Regions from separate parts of the Homo sapiens genome. Here region 1 is linked to region 2. The links are contacts of gene promoters, found by promoter capture Hi-C in human tissues and cell types (Jung and others, 2019). All regions are on one chromosome and are shown on one strand. Each heading gives the region's core, a stretch centred on a gene start or on the middle of the fragment in contact. The rest is flanking DNA. Distances are from core to core; before and after follow the strand shown. Region 1 has its middle 56 kb from the start of PF4. Region 2 holds the start of CXCL2 (C-X-C motif chemokine ligand 2).

Region 1 (3,701 bases), core at 143-2,642, 170 kb before region 2:
TCCATTTTACCTATTTTCACATTAATCGCCACCAAATGATAACATCTTCTTGTTAACTTTGTAATGTCTGCAGTCTTGACCAATCACACCAAAATCTATTCAACAACCAACTCTTGGTTTTGGTGATCCTTTCTATTGAATGTGTGTTTCCAATTTCATAAATTTCTACTCTTATATCTAGTTCCTTCTCTTTGTCTTTTTATTTAATTTAGATATTTTAAGTTCATTTTCTAGCATAGCATTTTAAAGCTGTAAATGTCCCTACATTACCTAGGTCTCATGTGTTCAACATACGGCAAAATTATCAGTTGATTCTATATATTTTCTAATAAGTTTTTATGTATTTTCTGATTTTCTGATTTTTGAGTTATTTAGAAGTGATTTTATTAATTTCCAAATATATGTTGCTTTCAGTATTGTTGAGTTTTTTTCTAAAGTACAGTTTTGTGGTTGATACCTAACTTATTCACACAATAATCACAGATCATTGTGTGTATCACAACAAACATCGAAAAGTATTTTTGAGTCTTGCCTTCTATCTAAATATGTGGTCAGCTTTCATAAATGGTCCATGTCTTCTTGAAAATACTATGTTCTCTGAAACTATCACCATAATCTTTGCCATGAACCTATCCATTACTTCCAAAAATTTCCTCCTTAACTGTTTGTTATTTTTCTTTTTGTATATCAGTTACACCTCAATAAAGTGGGCTTTTTTAAGAAAAGAATATACTCTGTAGCTATTGAAAATTGAGTATGTGGAGATATATATTAATATACATACATATACATAAAAAGCACAATTAATACATTTCATGCAATGGATATGTATATATTGATATATATATCATGTATATATGTTTTTACATATATTGATATATATATCATGTATATATGTTTTTACATATATATGTATATGTGTATATATATCGATATATATGTGTATATGTATCGATACATGTATATACATATATACATATATATCGATATATATGTAAAAACATATATACAGATATATCCATTGCATGGAATGTATTAATTGTGCTTTTTAATAGTCTGTATCTTAATGTCTTTTCTGCATAAATTATCAATTATTTAAAAATATATGTTAAAATTTTCTAATGAAATATTTATATATTTCTTCTTGGACTTATTTATGATATTTTATATATTACATATTTTGAATCTATCATATACAAATAAATTTGATTTCAATATACTCCAGACTAAGTGACTTTTTATAACCATGTATATACTCTCTTAATGTCTAGAAATGTTTGGGAAAAAAAAACTCAGCTGACACCTTGATCTTTGACTTCTAGCCTCCAGAATTGTATGAAAATAAATTTATGTTTTTAAGTCACTCAGTGTGTGGTACTTTGTTATCAAGCAAACTAATACGTTACTCATGCCCAGTGGTATTTGCTGTAGATGATACAGAACCATTGAAGACTCCCAAGGCAGAAAGGTAACCTAATTAGGTTTGTGTTTTAATGGAATCACTTTGCAGTGAATAAGATTGGGGGGCAATAATCAACACTTTTAAAGAAAAGAAATTCTAACCCAGAAATTCATATCCAGCCAAACTAAGCTTCATAAGCAAAAGAGAAATAATGTCTTTTTCAGACAAGCAAATGCTGAGGCATTTTCTATAAAGCAACCACATAAATAAGTCTGCAAAATAACCAGCTAACATCATGATGACAGGATCAAATCCAAACATATCAATACTAACCTTAAATATAAATTGTCTAAATGTCCCAATTAAAAGACACAGAGTGGCAAACTGGATAAAGAACCAAGACCTTTTGGTATGCTATCTTCAAGAGACTGATCTCACATCTGATAACACACATAGGCTCAAAATAAAGGCATAGAGGAAAAATCTGCCAAGCAAATGGAAAACAGAAAAAAGCAGGGGTTGCAATCCTAGTTTCTGATAAAACAGACTTTAAACCAACAAAGGTCAAAAAAGACAAGGGCATTACAAAATAGTAAAGGGTTCAATTTAACAAGTAGATATAACTATTCTAAAGATAGATGCACTGAACACAAGAGCACCCAGACTCATAAAGCAAGTTGTTAGAGACCTTCAAAGAGACTTAGACTTCCACACAATAATAGTGGGAGACGTTAATACTCCACTGACAATATTAGACAGATCATTGAGAAAAAATTAGCAAAGCTATTCAGGACCTAAACCCAGCACTGAATCAAATGGACCTGATAGATACCTACAGAACTGTCCACCCCAAAGCAACAGAATATACATTTTTCTCATTGCCACGTGGCACATACTGTAAAACTGATCAGATAATTGGAAGTAAGAACTGAAGTCATAACAAAGAGTCACTCAGAACACAACACAATTAAATTAGAAATCAAGACTAAGAAATTCACTCATAACGATTACAAGGAAAATGAAAAACGTGCCCCTGAATGACTTTTGAGTAAATTGTAAAATTAAGACAGAAATCAAGAAATTCATTGAAACTACTGCGAACAAAGATTCAACAAATCAGAATGTCTGGGACACAGCTAAGGCAGTGTTAAGAGGGAAAGTAACAGCACCAAATGCCCACATCAAAAAGTTAGAAAGATCTCAAGTTAGCAACCTAAAATCACAACTAAAAAACCTAGAGAACCAAATGTAAATCAGTCCCAAAGCTAGCAGAAGACAAAAAATAACCAAAATCAGAGCTGAACTGAAGGAGATTGAGGCATGAAAAACCATTCAGAAGATCAACAAATCCAGAAGCTGTATTTTTTGACAAAATTAATAAAGTATATAGACTGCTAGCTAGACTAATAAAGAAGAAAAGAGGGAAGATTCAAATACCCACAGTCAGAAATGACAAAGGGGATATTACCACTGACCTCCCAGAAATACAAACAACTATCAGAGAATATTATGAACATCTTTATGCACATAAACTAGAAAATCTAAAAGAAATAGATAAATTATTGGACACATACACCAAGACTGAACCAGGAAGAAACTGAATCCCTGAACAGACCAATACTGGGCTCTGAAATTGAGACAGTAATAAATAGAATACCAACTAAAAAAACCCCAGGACCAAATGGATTTACAACTAATTTGACCACATGTAAAGAAGAGCTGGTACCATTCCTACTGAAACGATTCCTAACAATTGAGGAGAAGGGACTTCTCTCTAACTCATTCTATGAGGCCAGCATCATCCTGACACCAAAGCCTGACAGAGATACAAGAAAAAAAAAAAAGAAAACTTTATGCCAATATCCTTGATGAACATTGATGCAAATGTTCTCAACAAAATACCGGCAAATTGAATCTAGCAGCACAACAAAGAGCTTATCCACCACGACCAATTAGGCTCTATCCTTGGTATGCAAGGTTGGTTCAACATATGCAAATCAATAAATGTGATTTATAATATAAACAGAACTAAAGACAAAAACCACATGATTATCTCAATAGAAGCAGAGAAGGCTTCCGATAAAATTCAACATCCATTCTTGTTAAAAACTCTCAATAAACTAGGTATTGAAGGAACATATCTCAAAATAATCAGAGCCATATATGACAAACCCACAGTCAATATCACACTGAATGGACAAAAGCTGGAAGCATTCCCCTTGAACACTGGCACAGGCACAGGAGAAGGGTGCTGTCCCTCACCACTCCTATTCAACATAGTATTGAACGTCCTGGCCAG
Region 2 (4,257 bases), core at 412-2,911:
TCATAACCTTATTTTACACATAAAATATTAACATAGAATCTTCTAAAACAAACAAATAAATAAATAAATAAATAAATAGAAGACTTCTCCTAAGTGATGCTCAAACACATTAGGCGCAATCCAGGTGGCCTCTGCAGCTGTGTCTCTCTTTCCTCTTCTGTTCCTGTAAGGGCAGGGCCTCCTTCAGGAACAGCCACCAATAAGCTTCCTCCTTCCTTCTGGTCAGTTGGATTTGCCACTGTAATGAGAAAATGGGTGCCCTGAGTAGGTGCTCAGGAAAGCTGACTGCACAACAGTCTTCTCCTGTCCTGTTTCCCCAGGCTCTAGAGTTTTCTGAATGCAGTTTCCCCAGCCTGGCACCCAAGTGGGTACTGCCTGTGACAGCTGTGCTGTGTGGCAAGGACCTCTAGGCTTGGGATGCTCTTTTAGGAATGGGGGTGACGTGGGGTGGAGGAGTGGCAGTCTACACTGTTTTACTGGCTAAAACAGCCAGAGCCTATTGCTCTTTGTCATACTGGGCCTCACTTGAGCCTCAAAGCAACCTCATGATGTAGCTACCATTATTTTCCCTGTTTTGCTGAGTCTCAGATAAACTAAATAATATTGTCTCTGAGTGACATGGCTAATAGGTGGTGGCAACCAGTTATATACCCAGTGCAATATTATTGTGAAATCTCTGCACTTCAACCCTAAACTTTTACAAAAAACCAGGGGGTCTGCTTTTCAGGTCTGAAAGTCAGTAGGAACTAGGGGAAATGAAGCTTGTGTTTTTTAACAGGTGGAAAACACTTCAGCACAACTGGCAAACTCCAATGAGACCTTACATGAAAGCAGTTTTACCTACATTCACTGGCAGGAGGGAAGAACCTGGGTGGTGACCCTGGGCACTGGGAATATCCTCTGGCACCAGAACAGATTAATAACCTTAATGGCAACTTTGTGAAAATAATAATTTTTTCAGTCCTGCAGCTAACCCTGGGTTTTCCTGATTTACTTTTTAGGGGGCAGACGCCAGTATTTCTGACCAACAGCTCCAGTCGCCTGTGTACATGGAAATTATAACTTACTTTTTCAGCATCTTTTCGATGATTTTCTTAACCATGGGCGATGCGGGGTTGAGACAAGCTTTCTGCCCATTCTTGAGTGTGGCTCTGCAGAGAGAAGGGAATCTCGTGAGACAGGAGGTCGGGCTGAGGACAGGGTTTGGGGCAGCGGGAGAGTCGGGGACCCCAGCAGTGGCAGCGGCAGCGATGGGCGAGACTTACATGACTTCGGTTTGGGCGCAGTGGGGTCCGGGGGACTTCACCTTCACACTTTGGATGTTCTTGAGGTGAATTCCCTGCAGGGTCTGCAAGCACTGGCAGCGCAGTTCAGTGGCCAGGGGCGCTCCTAGGGAAGAAGAGACTCGCTGATTGAGCGGGGCTGTCGGCGCGGGGCGCCCACCCCAGCCGCGTCCGGCCCGGGGACCCCAGGGCGCCGGGACCCACCTGCTGCGCGCCGGCTGGCGGCCACCAGGAGCAGGAGCAGCAGCGCCACCCGCAGGAGCCGGGGATTGCTGGGGGCGGCGGAGAGCGTGGCGCGGGCCATGGGGCTCAGCAGGCGGTTCGAGCGGCTGTGCGAGGAGGAGAGCTGGCAAGGAGCTGCCTGTGGCCCGGGCTCTGTGGCTCTCCGAGAACGGCGAACCCCTTTTATGCATGGTTGGGGCTGGAAAGCCCGGAGTCCCGGGCCAGGGAAATTCCCGGAGCTCCAGATCGATCCCGAGTTCGGAAGGAAGGCGATGGCCCCGCCTCTGGGGTGGAGGGGGGTCGGGGCACTCACGAGTGACGTCCGGGTCTGACTGTCTTGCGTAACTCCCGCCAACTGTGGGATGTTCTCTTTCTGCCCCGAATCCCTGGAGCGGGAGCGAGAGCCCGCCGCTCTCAGAGATACCGAGATAACCGCCTGCGAGGAGGCGCTTCGTGAACCCAGTGCAGTGCGTCGTGGGTCAGATCCCTTAGACCCACGTAGGGACCGCGCTACATCCTTACCGGGGGGAGTTACTTCTCTGGAAGACATTTCAGTTGTTGGGATTGAAAGTTAGGGCAAGAACTGCAGCATGTCTTATCTATCCTCTCTCTTTAGTTTGGGTTCTGCAAATTTCATTAATGTTTGAAATAAACGCACGCTTTAACAGTACATGTGTCATCTCAGATGACGCATAAGAGCTTTTGTCTCCTTCCTGGTGTTTTATGATCTTAAAAGCAAATATCACGTGTGTGTGTGTGTGTGTGTGTGTGTGTGTGTGTGTGTGTGTGTGTTTCAACGTAGTGGAGCCAGGTGTTGGGTGCGGGAACAGACCATTGCCAAGGGTCAATTCAGTGTTTATTTTAGTTAACAGTGTTGCAATCCCCCATCCTTTCTCTCTTTGAAATCTTGGAACATCTCGAACTCTAGTAATTCCAGTAGCATCAATTTTTTGTTGTATGGAAGTCTGTGTTTTGATCCATGGAAGTCACTGGGAGCTGCGAGGGGCCTGTTGGGCTCAGGAGGTCTGCCTTTTCTAGTGCTGTCCCTGGGCAGAAAAGGCCATAGACACCACCAGAAAAGGAGCAGGGAATGAGACTCCGCTTGTTTACTACTCTAAGCACAAGCAGACATGTCTGATATATACATACTAGATTGCTAACATAATTGCATTTCCATGCCATATGTATTTACCAGCATCCTGGGATTGGTTCCCTCTAGAGAAACAGCTATCGAGGAAATTTTAGTTCTAGAGGAATGTCAATAAAGCATTTCCAAGCCTGTTTAGCTGATGCCTTCTCACTGGATTACTGACTTTTCATCATCAATTTCAATGACCCCCTCTCTTTAAAAATTAAGCTGTAGGCCTACAATACTCTGTCTTAATTCTTCCTGGTGGATGCAGACTTCAGGGATATGGAGATATTCTGCCACTGCTATGAGAAGGGCTGGGAGTGGCACGAGGATGAAGAAGTGGGACTACCTTAGGAATAGAGTGTTCCCTGGATGCTGCAGCTGTAGAGATCACTTGATAAGGATGTCAGGGCTGAAGTTTCAGCCATACCACTAACTTGCTTCATGACCCTTGGTAATTTATGCTTTATTTGCTCATGTTTCTCCCCTGTAGAAGAGCTTATAATAGTGCCTGCCTCACGGGGTTGTTAGAAGTATTGATTGTTAATATGTGTAAACCATCAGTGCATGTAAAGTGTTATGTAAATATTTGTTAAATAACAAAATAGAAGTGGTGTTTCACAACCTTACTGATATAGGCTGGATGTTTGTGTCTCTTTCAAATTCAGATGATGAAGCCCTGACTCCCTTATGTGCTAATATTAGAAGACAGGACCATGGGAAGTAATTAGGTTTAGGTGAGGTTATGAAGGTATGGCCCCCATGATGGGATAAGTGCCATTACAGCAAGAGATCAGTGAGCTTTCGATCTCTGGCTCTCTCTCCCTTTCTGCATTGTGAGGACACAGCAAGAAGGCCACCATCTGCAAACTGAGAAGAGGGCCCTCACCAAGCATGAAATCTGCCAGGATCTTAATCTTGGACTCCCCAGCCTCCAGAACTGTGAAATAATTGTTGTTTAAGCCCCCTAGCCTATGGCATTCTGTTATAGCAGCTCAAACTGACTAAGACACTTAACTAAACAGAAGCACTCTGATAAAGCCTTATGAACACACACACGCACAAAGAAAGAAATATTTTCAAAGAAACATCTTCTAATTTACCTTTAAAATTTTTCAGCATCAGAAATTTTAAAGGAGGGTGCATTTCTATCCTTATGGGATCTTACAATAATTTTTTGATCCATTGTTTGTTTGAAATTTTAGTTTCAATCACTTTCCACATAAAATGAGAATAAGAGTAAAATTCTACCCTATCCATTTATTAGAAAAGATTTATGAAATGACTCTGCCTTGGGCATTAACAGCTAGCTGCCCAAACTTCTTTATTTTGTGCTAAAGAACTAAAGAACAATAGAAAACATCAGCTTATAATGATTGCCAGACTCATCCCAAAGTATTGATGTGAGTAAATAGAAAGAGTAAAATTTCTATTATCTACAGTAACAGTCCCTCAAAAAGATGAGAAATTTCAAGAATCAGCCCATCATTTGTAAAATTATGTACGTTATTCCTAGAATTTGTTTACTAAAAATTATTTGCTTTAGGAAGGGAAGTAGAATTCCTTTTTCTTTTCTTAATATACCACTTTCCATGATTTAACTTATGACAGCCCCAGACC

Evidence for each region. The method cuts DNA at HindIII sites, captures the fragments that hold promoters and counts their contacts. A contact is called where the count stands out against the background at its distance.
Region 1: a contact is called between a fragment that was not itself captured here and the fragment with the promoter of CXCL2 in region 2, in 2 of the 25 tissues and cell types used here (H1 embryonic stem cells and IMR-90 fibroblasts).

The regions. Positions count from the first base shown.
Region 1 is chr4:73,924,199-73,927,899 of GRCh38, forward strand. No RefSeq gene overlaps it. Among named protein-coding and RNA genes, the nearest start is that of PF4, 56 kb to the right of the region's middle. The HindIII fragment of the contact is 9,274 bases long and covers 1-3,701 here.
Region 2 is chr4:74,097,534-74,101,790 of GRCh38, forward strand. It overlaps CXCL2 (C-X-C motif chemokine ligand 2), which reads right to left and starts at 1,662. Exons shown (of 4, transcript NM_002089.4): 1 at 1,488-1,662; 2 at 1,266-1,389; 3 at 1,068-1,151; 4 at 1-238. The coding sequence starts at 1,587. The coding sequence ends at 223. The HindIII fragment of the contact is 5,836 bases long and covers 944-4,257 here.